2 separate regions of the Homo sapiens genome follow, and region 1 is linked to region 2. Evidence: promoter capture Hi-C in human tissues and cell types (Jung and others, 2019). All regions are on one chromosome and are shown on one strand. Each heading gives the region's core, a stretch centred on a gene start or on the middle of the fragment in contact. The rest is flanking DNA. Distances are from core to core; before and after follow the strand shown.

Region 1 (5,717 bases), core at 309-2,808, 89 kb after region 2:
TTCTCTTGAACTGATTTGCAGTTGTTGCATCATATAGTAAGTACATGTTTAATTTTTAAAGAAGTTGCTGAACTGTTTTTCAAAGAGCTTATGCCATTTCCCATTTGACTGGCAGCGTAAGAAGGTTCAGCTTTTACACTCACACCTGGTATTGTCGGTCTTTTTCATCATAGCCTTCCTAATGAGTGCAAAGTGGTGTCTTAGGTTTTAAGTTATACTTCCCTGATGACTAAAGATGGTAAACATCTTTTCTTATACTTTTTAGTCATTGGTGTAATTTCTTTAGTTAAATATGTAGGCAAATATTTTGTCCATACTTAATTGTTGTTTGCTTTCCTATTAATAAATTGTATTAAAAATATACATTCTAGATATGATATTGTCTTTAAAAGGTACTTCCTATGCAGTTGTCTTTTATAATCTTCAATTTACTGTCCTTTAAAAATATTTATGGAGAAACTTCTGTTCAGAAAGTTTCATTCATAGAAATGTAAGTCTGGGCTTTATCGGTCAACACTGTTTACATATTTCAGTATCTCCTTCAGTTGCACTTGACTTTATCCTTTCTATTGATATCTTAGGTTGAAATAACAGTTTTCCTCTGGATATATTCTGTGTGGCCATATGCTGGTCTCGAACTCTTGACCTCGTGATCCGCCTGCCTTGGCTTGCCAAAGTGCTGGGATTTACAGGCATGGGTCGCTGTGTCCAGCCCCGAAGTACTTTCAAAACAGGAAAAGATATCAAAGGCATGGCAACATAACACACTAGGTTTCTTTTCTTATTATTTTGTTACAGTTTTACTTTTCAAGGATTTTGAGATTTGGTATAATTGAGTTCCAGAACTTAGACATCAACTTAGTATTTTTTCCTATAGCAACTTTTGAATCATGACTTAAGCTACAGCATCTTTCTTTTTGCAATTGGGTTTTATGGTAATTTCTAATTATTATAATTCTGATAGAAACAATTAGCTTTACATATGCTTTGATAGGGCATCATCCTTGAGCAAGCACAGAAAAAAAGCAGTATTGAGAGACAGTATTGTGTATGATTAAGAATACAGTCTCTGTAGAATGGCTTGAAGCCGGGAGGCAGAGGTTGCAATGAGCCAGGATCGCACCACTGCACTCCAGCCTGGTTGACAGAGCGAGACTCTGTCTCAAAAAAAAGAATGCAGTCTCTGTAGCAGGACTTCCCAACTTCAGACTGTTATTTACTAGCTGGGTAACCTTGAGCAAGTTAACTTTTTGAAGCTTGTTTTCATTGCCAACCTCATAGTCAGTGGGCCTCTCTTGTTTGTTCCCATTTCTTTTTAAAATAACTACCACATTCTCCTGACTTCCACAAATATGTTTACTACTTGTTTCAGTTTTATCACTGAAGACATATTTAAACATTCCCTTAGTTGTTTTTCTCATTTTTAATCCTTAGTTTTGACTAAGCCTTACTCCTTTTGTTAAATTTTAGTATCATTATTCTTAGAGAAAAATGCCAAAATATTAATATTTAAAAGGCATATCTGTCTATCCATTAGTATTTATCTGTATCTATGTATCTTAACATTTCTGGCACTGTTTTAAGTGTCTTCCATGAAAATGTTATAAGAAAGGAGTGAAAGCTGCTTTCAAATATTTAAATAGTTATCATATAAAAATTAGATAAAGTTTTTGTTTCAGAAGGCAAAACCAGTGTCAAAGAATAGATGTTATAAGAAAGTAGATTTGGTTAAGAATTAAGAGGAACTTTCCAACAACTGGAGACATTAAAAATGGAGGGAGTTGCCTAGTGAAATAAAGGTCTATATAATACTTGAGAGTTCATAAAGAAAATGAATGACAGTCACTCAGGGATATTTTACTGAAGATTCATAAAGGGAACCCAAACTTTAAAGGTAAATAATATGATCACGTTATTTTTGTAATGCTAGTTTCAGGAATAGGGAGAGTATCCATATTATAAACATTTTGTGCTATTGTGAAAAAAAACTTTGATTCTGTTTTCTTTTCATAGCAGATATGGTTTAACCTTAAAAAGTAATGAATTGGTGGAGTAGAGAGATTTAGAAAAGCTTTGACTATTTAGCAATTCTTCTTCTTTCAAAGCTTAGTACATAGTGGCTTTTAAAATTCAACTCAATAAAGTATGTTTAAAATGCTGCCTGTATTTGGATTCCAAGTTTAGTAGACAATTTCTGCTCCTCAAAATGCAATGAAAACTTGATTTCTATGATCTATGATGAATAATAAAAGCTGCCTTTAAAACATTTTATACTTGTAAGAGTGCTTTATAAGAAAGCCACTTATTTACATTTTTCAGCCTCCATGAAATTGAACCTTTAAGAAATGCTAAAATAGTAAACAAGTAATTAGGCTATGAGTTATTAACAAGTTTTATTTCAGTTTATTTAGTTGTTAGACAAAGCTAGTTTACACATTTCTATTATACTGGTGGCTAAAGATTATGATCACTTATTAGAGAGATCAGTTTCTATTGTACTTATAACATGATTCAGAACCCTTCATTCTGTTTAACAGCATTTCCTTATTCTGTGAAGAAATGAGTACAGTTTACCACATTTTATTTTTCTGAAAATAATCAAAATCCAAGTACAGTCATACACTACACATTGATGGTTTAGTCAGATTGACTGCATATATGACAGTGGTCCCATAGGATTGTAAAGCCGTATTTTATCATACCTTTTCAATGTTTAGACACAAAAATACCATTGTGTTCCAGTTCTTACAGTATTCAGGATAGTCACATACTGTATAGATTTGCAGCCTAGGAGCAATAAGCTCTACCATTTAGCCTATGTGCATTGTAGGCTATGCCTCTAGGTTTGTGTAAGTATACCCTGTTGTTCATATAATGGTGAAATTGCCCAACAGTGTGCTTCTGAGATGTATTTCTCTTGTTGTTAAGTGATTCATGACTGTATTTATGTTTGAATCATACAATAATCTTGGTTCGTTTTCCGTTTTTCCTAATGAAGACATGGTGGTTTTTTTTTTTTCCTTGGAGATACAGGGGGGTCAAAAATCTGAGCATATTGTAGGTGACAAGCAGTGGAAGTTGATTCCAAAACTCTTGCTTTTTGAAGGAGAGGTCAAGAATTATATTTCTTGTCAGCACAGACTCATCTGTGAAGTTGTTGTTGGCTGATGTTAAAAATGCTTGTAATAACATGTGTAGGTTCTTCAAAGGATTGAGATTTCAAGCTTACATGTCTCAAAATTTTGAGTGAAGCAGTGACTCTTTTTTGGCCATTGAACACCAGCTTCAGAAATCCTTCCATCCACTGTAGAAGAGGTGTGAGGGAATCTCTTTCTCTCTGTGAACATATATGGAGAACTCATACTATGATTTATGGCAGCTTGCATTTTCATATTTTTCTAATTTAGATGTTACTATGAATAAGGTAGGTGTAGATCTAACAATAGAATTGCCATAAACAGGAGTTAGAAATTCTTAACATCCTACAGTAAAAGAATTTTGTGCTACTCTGATACATTTTTTAGGTAGGTTATAAATTCTTATCTTACTATCTTAATATGACTAATTATGACAGCTATTTTTCAGTAGTTTAATTACCATTCTACCCTGTTCTGTGGTTATAAAGACTTATTCCAGGCCGGGCGTGGTGGCTCACGCCTGTAATCCCAGCACTTTGGGAGGCTGAGGCAGGTGGATCACCAGGTCAGGAGATCAAGACCATCCTGGCTAACATGGTGAAACCCCGTGTCTACTAAAAATATATTTAAAAAAAAAATTAGCCGGGCGTGGTGGTGGGCGCCTGTAGTCCCGGCTACTCAGGACGTTGAGGCAGGAGAATGGCGTGAACCCGGAAGGTGGAGCTTGCAGTGAGCCGAGATGGCACCACTGCACTCCAGCCTGGGTGACAGAGCGAGACTCTGACTCAAAAAAAAAAGACTTATTCCATACAAGAGTTTATTATTCTGTGAAATAATATATATTATTTTATGTACAATGTTTACATTCTATGTCAACTCAAAAAGAAAATTTTGTGAAGTTTGTGTTCTTATCCCCCCAGTTTATAGAAATAAATAGTACCTAATAAATTATTTATAGTTCTCTTGCTTGTTTCTCTATAATCTTGATTTTTTTTTTGAGACGGAGTCTCGCTCTGTTGCCCAGGCTGGAGTGCAGTAGCGCGATCTCTGCTCACTGCAAGCTCCGCCCCCCGGGTTCGTGCCATTCTCCTGCCTCAACCTCCCGAGTAGCTGGGACTACAGGCGCCCGCCACCACGCCTGGCCAACTTTTTGTATTTTTAGTAGAGACAGGGTTTCACCGTGTTCACCAGGATGGTCTCGATCTCCTAACTGTGTGATCCACCCACCTTGGCCTCCCAAAGTGCTGGGATTACAGGTGTGAGCCACTGCACCCGGCCTCTAATCTTGATTTTATGGGATTATGTATTTCAAAGATTTTACATTTTACCCTGTTAATTTTTTTTTTGTTTTTAAGTAGATACGATTTTTAAACTTGAATCTTCACCACTGAATTACAGAAGAGAATGCACAATTGTCCATTCCCTTCTGTTATTTAGTGGTGAAGATTCAAGTTTAAAAATAGAGAAAATAGAGAAAAAAGATTATTGTGCTGTTCCTGATGGGGATCATTGGACACTATAAAACTGTGTTTGATTTTCCTTAAATAACATGATTTTGGAAACTTTATATATGGTTTGATCACTTTAGTTTTCCCCAGACATTTCTTTCGAGTGAACCATTGTTTTACAGTGTGACCTCCGGGGCACTGCCGATACTCGGTTTATGGGGCTGCTTCTCACCACTATCATATAACAATTTAAATTAATTAATTTAAAAAATGTGTTCGGAGCCTTCTTTAAGTCTAAATATAGAGTGTATGTCTATCTGCTATGTTTCCCTTAACTACTAATTTGATAATTCTAAGGGGAAGAGATGATTCAGTGGGTCTGGTATGAACTGTTCTCTATAATCTGAGCAAGGCTCTGACCTCATCTTTCCTGAAGGTGGAAAAATGGTCTCATAAATTTCTTTTTTTTTTTTTTTTTGAGACAGAGATAGAGTCTCACTCTGTCACCCAGGCTGGAGTGCAGTGGTTTGATCCTGGCTTACTTCAGCCTATACCTCTCAGGTTCAAGCAATTCTCGTGCCTCAGCCTCCCGGGTAGCTGGGACTACAGGTGTGCACCCCTAGGCCCAGCTAAATTTTGTATTATTATTGTTATTAGTAGTAGTAGTGAATACAGGGTTTTGCCATGCTGGCCAGGCTGGTCTAGAACTCCTGGCCTCAAGTGATTCGCCCACCTTGGCCTCTCAAATTGCTATGATTATAGACGTGAACCACTGCGCCCAGCCTAGTCTGATAAATTTCTAGATGTTTTTGTTATTATGTGTATAAAAATGGACTGAAGTATTATTTCCTATCTTTACACTTGTTAATTCTTGACTCATTATACTTACACTCTATTTACTTTTACAGATCATACTATCATAGGTGAGAGGGCTTCCTGGGTTAATTTTCAATTATATTTCCTTTACCCCTTACCCTAATCAGAGATTGCTATCACCAGAACGAATGGTTTATTTCAAAATTCTACATTTATTTTATTTAAGACATTTCATTCCCCAATTTTGTCTATCTCCTTTGTCATTGTTTGCATTTAATGTTTGGATTGATTTTTCTTGGAATGGCATAGGTGAATT
Region 2 (6,302 bases), core at 450-2,949:
CAGGATGAGAAAGAATACATATATATAAGAATATATATTATATATATTCTTTCTCATATGTATATGTATATACATATACATATATATACACACACATATATATATATATATATATATATATATAATTTGAAGGGGGAGTGTCTGAGTGATAGTACACACTTTTCTATCTTTAAAGCCCATTTAAGATCTGGGGAAAAAGGTATGTCTCTGAACCAGTTTGAGTGGATTTTTCCAAATGAAACCTCAAATAGCATTTATATTTAAGCCCTAACAAACACTTGGGAAGATTTGAAGTTAAAAGCAAATTGTGGTGGGGGTACAGCACAGGTTTTGTGGTTTGGTTTTGTTTTGCTTTTTAAATAAACACAGTCCACAAAAACCCATCTGCCTTCACCTGGAAGGACCAGTTCTTTAATTAAAAAAACGCTTTGGCTTCGGTTTCACTGGGAAACTAAAGCCAGAGCCCCTAAACTTTTCTCTCCGCAGATCGGGTGAGCTGGGGAGGGTGCTCATCCACTTCATTGCAGGGGGAAGTACAGCCTGGAACCCCTTTCGGGATACTGTCATTTGCCCCTTCTTCCCATCTCTTACTCTATCCTCAGAACCAGTATGAGAGTTTTCTGGGGCTAAGGCAAGGGGCAGTGGGGTCAGGCGCTGGAAGGACTGGTTTGCAAAGAGATAAGCTTTGGAATGAAGCCGCACAGCTGAAAACTCGCGGCAAGACATGCTCGCGCTGTGGCGAGTCAGTTCGAGAAGCATTTATCCCTACTCCCCTTAGCTTTCTGAGCAGCATTTGCAGTCAGGTGCAAACAGATCGCATATTTGGCGCAAAGAGCCCTGAGGATGAGGGACGTGGGATCATTCCCCGGTTTCCCCCGGGCCAGGTGCTAGGTCGTTTGAGGAGGAACTGTTCTCCAGTTCTCAACGCCTGCAAAGGCGGCTATAGGTGGCAAGCGGAGCTGTCCAGCACTAGTGAGGAGCCAGCGGAGCCGGGAGCCCCGCGCACCCCGCCCGGCTGAGGCTCAGCAACAGTGCTGTCTTGTCAGAGCAGACGCTGTCCTCACTGCCGCCCCTTTCTGGGCTCGCTCCGCGCCCACACGGCCTCGCACGAGGCGGGGAACACAAGTCCCCAGGAGCTGCTCCAGCAGGATGGGCGCCAAAATGTTGCCCCTGTCCTTCCCTTCCCCTGAAAGCGTCTCCTCTGGAGTGGGCTGGCTGGACGCTTGGCCTTTCCCTTTTGCCTCGGAACTTCCTAAATAAACTCGGAGAAAGGACAACATGGACCCTAACCCCCACTTCACACTGTCAGGTTTCCCCAAGGTGGCTCCAGGGGGAGGCCTCTCGCCCCCCAGCCCCGAGCCCTTCTCCCCACCAGCGCCGCCGGGACCCATCTGCTCCCGAGGGCCGAGGATAAGGCGTTTGGGGTTGGGGCCCTCAGTCCGACCCGAGCTCCTGTGCGCACCTCCTCGGAGCAGGGAGGGCGCGCAGAGGACAGCAACGAAGTGTCCTCGTTGCTCCTGAAACGTGGCGACAGGCGAGGCAGAGACTCCCAATGAGTATGATGGCGACACGTGATTCCCGCGGAGGGAGAGCATGGGGGGGGGCGGGGGGATAAAGGGAGAAGGAGGGAGGCAGGGCAGCAAGTGGAGAGAGGCGGGAGCAGAGAGGGAAAGGGGGCGAGATAGGCGCGCAGGCGGCAGAAGCCTCTGCCTCTGCCTCCCCTTCTGCTTGGGCCGCAGCCCTCCCCGCCCCGCCGACCGCGGTCACACACTCTCGGAGCCTCCCCGTGAGCGGGAGCGCGGCGCACGGCGATGCGCCGAGGCGGGCGCTGAGGCGGCGCCGCGCGAGCAGCAGCAGAGGCGGCGGCGGCCCCCAGCCCAGCCCGGCGCCGCCGCCGAGCCCGGGCCCCAAGGTGCGGCGGCGCCCCAAGTTCCCGCCATGAGCAGCCGGCTCGGGGGGCTCCGCGGCCCCGGGGACTCCCGCCCCGCCGGGCGCGACCGCAGCGCCCCGCGGCCCCGACGCGCTTAACGTTGTCGCTTGCCGGTCCCGCCACCGCCGCCTCCGCCGCCGCTCGCGTCCTCGCCGCCACCGCCTCGGCCGCTGCAGCTCCGCCGGCAGCATGTCTCGAAGGAAGATTTCGTCCGAGTCCTTCAGCTCCCTGGGCTCCGACTACCTGGAGACCAGCCCGGAGGAGGAGGGGGAGTGCCCCCTGTCTAGGCTCTGCTGGAATGGCAGCCGGAGCCCGCCCGGGCCGCTGGAGCCCAGCCCGGCCGCAGCTGCCGCTGCCGCCGCCCCGGCCCCGACCCCGGCTGCTTCTGCCGCCGCCGCCGCTGCCACTGCCGGGGCCAGGAGGGTGCAGCGCCGGAGGCGGGTCAACCTGGACTCGCTGGGCGAGAGCATCAGCCGCCTGACGGCGCCCTCGGTGAGCGGGGGGCGGAAGGGGGGACCGCCTTCGGGGGAGAGAACGCGGATCTGTAAAGTTGGCGCTGGGCGAGCCGGGGCGCGAGCGCAGAGCCCGACCGCTGGGGGGCGGCCCGGCCTTACCCTGCACGGCCTAGGGTTCCAGTGGCTCCGGCGACAGAGGATCCCCTAGGCTAGGGCGGAAGAGGGGACTACAGCACTGGGAAGGAATAAGATTCCACTCCTTTGGGGTATCCTGATTCGGGGGCCTGTCTGCCCACCTCTAGCCTTGAACCCTACTTCACCACTGTTCCCCCTGGACAGCCCCAGTGCTGCTTCACACCCACCTGTTTTCTTTCCCCTAAACTTTCCCAGGCACTGTGTTCTGCAGTTCAGCTTCCCTGTCTTTCATCCTGTTCTCCAGCATCCCAAAGGAGCCCCAACCCCTTCCAGGAAACCCTTCCTCTCCTTATTTCCCACACTCTCTTGGTCTTAGCGTGACCTTCTCTGACATCTTTGAATTCCACAGGCTATCTGCATTCTATGTTGCATCCTTTTTCTCACATCTTCAGATACTTTTTGCCAGATACTTTTCTGAGTTGCCTTCTGTTCAAGTAATCTCTAATCTCGAGTTGTCCTCACCCCGTAGCTTTTTTTCTTTTTCTTTCTTATCCACTAGGCATTTATTCTTCTCTGGGTAAACCTGGTGTCTGGATTTCTTTTTTTTTAAATTAAATTTAATTTAAAGTCCCGGGTTACATGTGCAGGATGTGCAGATTTGTTACATAGGTACCAAACGTGTGCCATGGTGGTTTGCTGCACCTACTAACTCATCACCTAGGTATTAAGCTTCGCATGCATTAGCTATTTAAACCGCTCTGTACTTCTTGCACCTGTACCTCATCCTTTACTCTCTCCTCAATGGATTCTCTAGTGCTTTCTCTCTCACATTAGCTATTTAAACCTCTCTGTACTTCTTGCACCTGTACCTCATCCTTTACTCTCTCCTCAATGGATTCTCTAGTGCTTTCTCTCTCACATTAGCTATTTAAACCGCTCTGTACTTCTTGCACCTGCACCTCATCCTTTACTCTCTCTTCAATTGATTCTCTAGTGCTTTCTCTCTCATTTTTTGGTGGCTTCTTTATATTAGGCCCTTCCTAAATATTTGTGGAATGAATAAATGCCTCTCCAAACTTGTGGTCATCTTGGGATGTCTGTATCAGCAGTTTCAGGTGTACAACAAACTCCCCCTGGTTGTAGGCATCCTTCCAGAGGAGTACTGCCTTATTCCTGCCCAGGCATTTCAGCTACCCTTGGCTTTTACCTCTTGCAGGAATGCCAGACCTCTGATCCAATCTTACCGTGTCTGGGAGAGCTCTGTTTTAAAGAAATCCACTCTGTTGCAGACAGAATTTGAAAAAGATTCAGCGTCAAACCTCCACCCATCTTTTATGCTCACCCTGACCTTGGATACAAGAGCTTTAGCTCCTCCTGACAGCACTTTCACCTGCCCACCCCTAGGACTTTTACTTTTTTAAAGTTTCCGAAATGAATCTGAACACTGATCTTGTTTGATTACTGTTGAGTCTCTCTTTTGAGATTACTACTGCAAATGATGGTAGGGGGGACCTAAGAAGGAGTGGAACCCTGAGGGGACTGAGTACGGGTACCAGACAGGTCTACAAATATTCTTGTGGCACTTGTATTAATGGAGAATGATTTTTTTCTTTTACGAGACCTGATTGAAGATGTATAAATCACTTATTACATTATTTATTTTGAACTAATTTAATTCTTAGGAACACATATTGAGAAACAGTCATCTTCCTATTCTTGTGTATTTTCGTATTTGATATATCTTTCTGCCACTTTTTCTTTCATCATTAACCTAGAAAACAATCCTCAGAATAGATTGGCTACTCTTTGCTGTTCTTCCCTGCCAATATTTCCCAGGCAGCGTAATTTTATAAACTATTTGATGTTGCAAATTGTTGAAAATATTTATTTACAACAGGAGTCCAATGACCCCGAGCGTCTGTAGGCTTGTGTCAGTACTTAAAGCAACATTTGTGCAATAAAATAGTTATTTAGTACAACAGATTCTTATTTAATGAAATGATTTTGCTAAAGATAATGATTAGTTTGGGGAGAATTGTTGATATAACCTTGGAGGTTTTTTTTTTTTTTTTTTTTTTTTTTTTTTTTTTTTTGCCTAAGAGAATTTACAGATTTCTAAAAAGTAATGTCAATGCCTCTGATAATGCTAATTTAAGCTAAGACTATTTTCAACAACTTACATGAGGAGTAGATAAAAGAAACTGAGAAATGCAGTATTTTCTGCTAGAATAAGAGGAAGGAAATAGTCTCTGATGGTTACTTTTATAAGTTAAATTTGAATGACTGGCTTTTTGCTGGATGAAAAGAATGTATCCAGAGAATGGTTTTCAGAATAAGCAATTTAAAAATAATTGTGATGATCAAATAAATGCAACAGCTCTATATACTTTCCATGCCATAGTTGTTTTCTATTATGAAAAGGGTCTGTCAGGTGGACGCTGAGAACATACAGGTGAATATACTGTAAACATTTTCAACATAACACATGTATAGAAAAATTCTCCTTGGTTAACCATATCATCAATAGACTTAGTGACACAAATAAAAGAGAGAGATTATATTTCAAAGCAGTGACTCATTTCTGGGCAGTCCTTACCTTATTTTATTTGGCAAGTTAGAACACTAGCTCAAAAAGTTCCAGTAGATTCATTTTTTGACATTGTCAGGATTTGAAACTTCTTTGAATACTCTTCAGGAGATGGATTATGTCCTCTCTATTCTCTCATGAAAGCTGGACATTTTTTTGTTTTTGAACCACTGAGAGTAGCCATTACCAGAGCCTTTTTAGATGGGAATTTCTAGTTGTTTTGAATGTTGTGAGCTTTCTTGCATGCCATCACAATATACTTCAGGAGAAACTGTACTTGCCATGGAAGCTCCTGTTTTGTCAGTTGTCTCATCGTGGCATGTCTCAGTCACTTGGGATTTCTTCTTTATTCAGAATGATTTGCAAATAGAAAAATGAAAATTTATTTATTAAACTAGTTATTTGACCCATGGGATATCCACACTCAGGTTTTTGATGCTTAATAGTCACTTTAAGATGCACCGATGTTGAGTATAAAGGTTATAATAATTTCTAATACTATTTAATAAGAGTAAGTTGTATTGGTGAAATTGAAAAAAAATTCCAGAATTCGGGAGACCTGATTCTAATTTTGCCTTGAACAATGAGAAACTTACATATCTCTGGACACATTACTTTAAATATCTGGGATTTCCCAGGCTTTGGACAAACTGTCATATTGGCATATGAAAGGGAAACATGGGCCAGGCGTGGTGGCTCATGCCTGTAATCCCAGCACTTTGGGAGGCCGAGGCAGGCAGATCACTAGGTCAAGAGATTGAGACCATCCTGGTCAACATGGTGAAACCCCGTCTCTACTAAAAATACAAAAATTAGCTGGGCATGGTGGCGTGCACCTGTAGTCCCAGCTACTTGAAAGGCTGAGGCAGGAGAATTGCTTGAACCCGGGAGGCAGAGGTTGTAGTGAGCCGAGATTGCGCCACTGCATTCCAGCCTGGCGACAGAGCGAGACTCCGTCTCAAAAAAAAAAAAAAAAAAAAAAAAAAAAGGAAAACATGGCATATATTATAAGTTTTAAAACTTTTGAGGAAAGTAGTTTACTTTTTAAGATAGGGGCACCAAAATGCTATTTAATCCACCCAATTATTTAAAAAATATTGTAGTATCTATGTGGCAGGTATTGTGCAGAGCATTTGGAAAGACAAATGCTGAACAAAACATATCTAGTCTTTGATTTCATGGAACTTCTTTAATC

Evidence for each region. The method cuts DNA at HindIII sites, captures the fragments that hold promoters and counts their contacts. A contact is called where the count stands out against the background at its distance.
Region 1: a fragment that was not itself captured here is called in contact with the fragment with the promoter of GUCY1A2 in region 2 in 2 of the 25 tissues and cell types used here (H1 embryonic stem cells and pancreas).

The regions. Positions count from the first base shown.
Region 1 is chr11:106,925,790-106,931,506 of GRCh38, reverse strand. The region is part of intron 4 of GUCY1A2 (guanylate cyclase 1 soluble subunit alpha 2); the gene reads left to right. Among named protein-coding and RNA genes, the nearest start is that of GUCY1A2, 90 kb to the left of the region's middle. The HindIII fragment of the contact is 5,903 bases long and covers 1-4,509 here.
Region 2 is chr11:107,013,873-107,020,174 of GRCh38, reverse strand. It overlaps GUCY1A2 (guanylate cyclase 1 soluble subunit alpha 2), which reads left to right and starts at 1,699. Exons shown (of 8, transcript NM_000855.3): 1 at 1,699-2,422. The coding sequence starts at 2,120. RefSeq lists a silencer at 2,176-2,305. The HindIII fragment of the contact is 5,267 bases long and covers 1-5,097 here.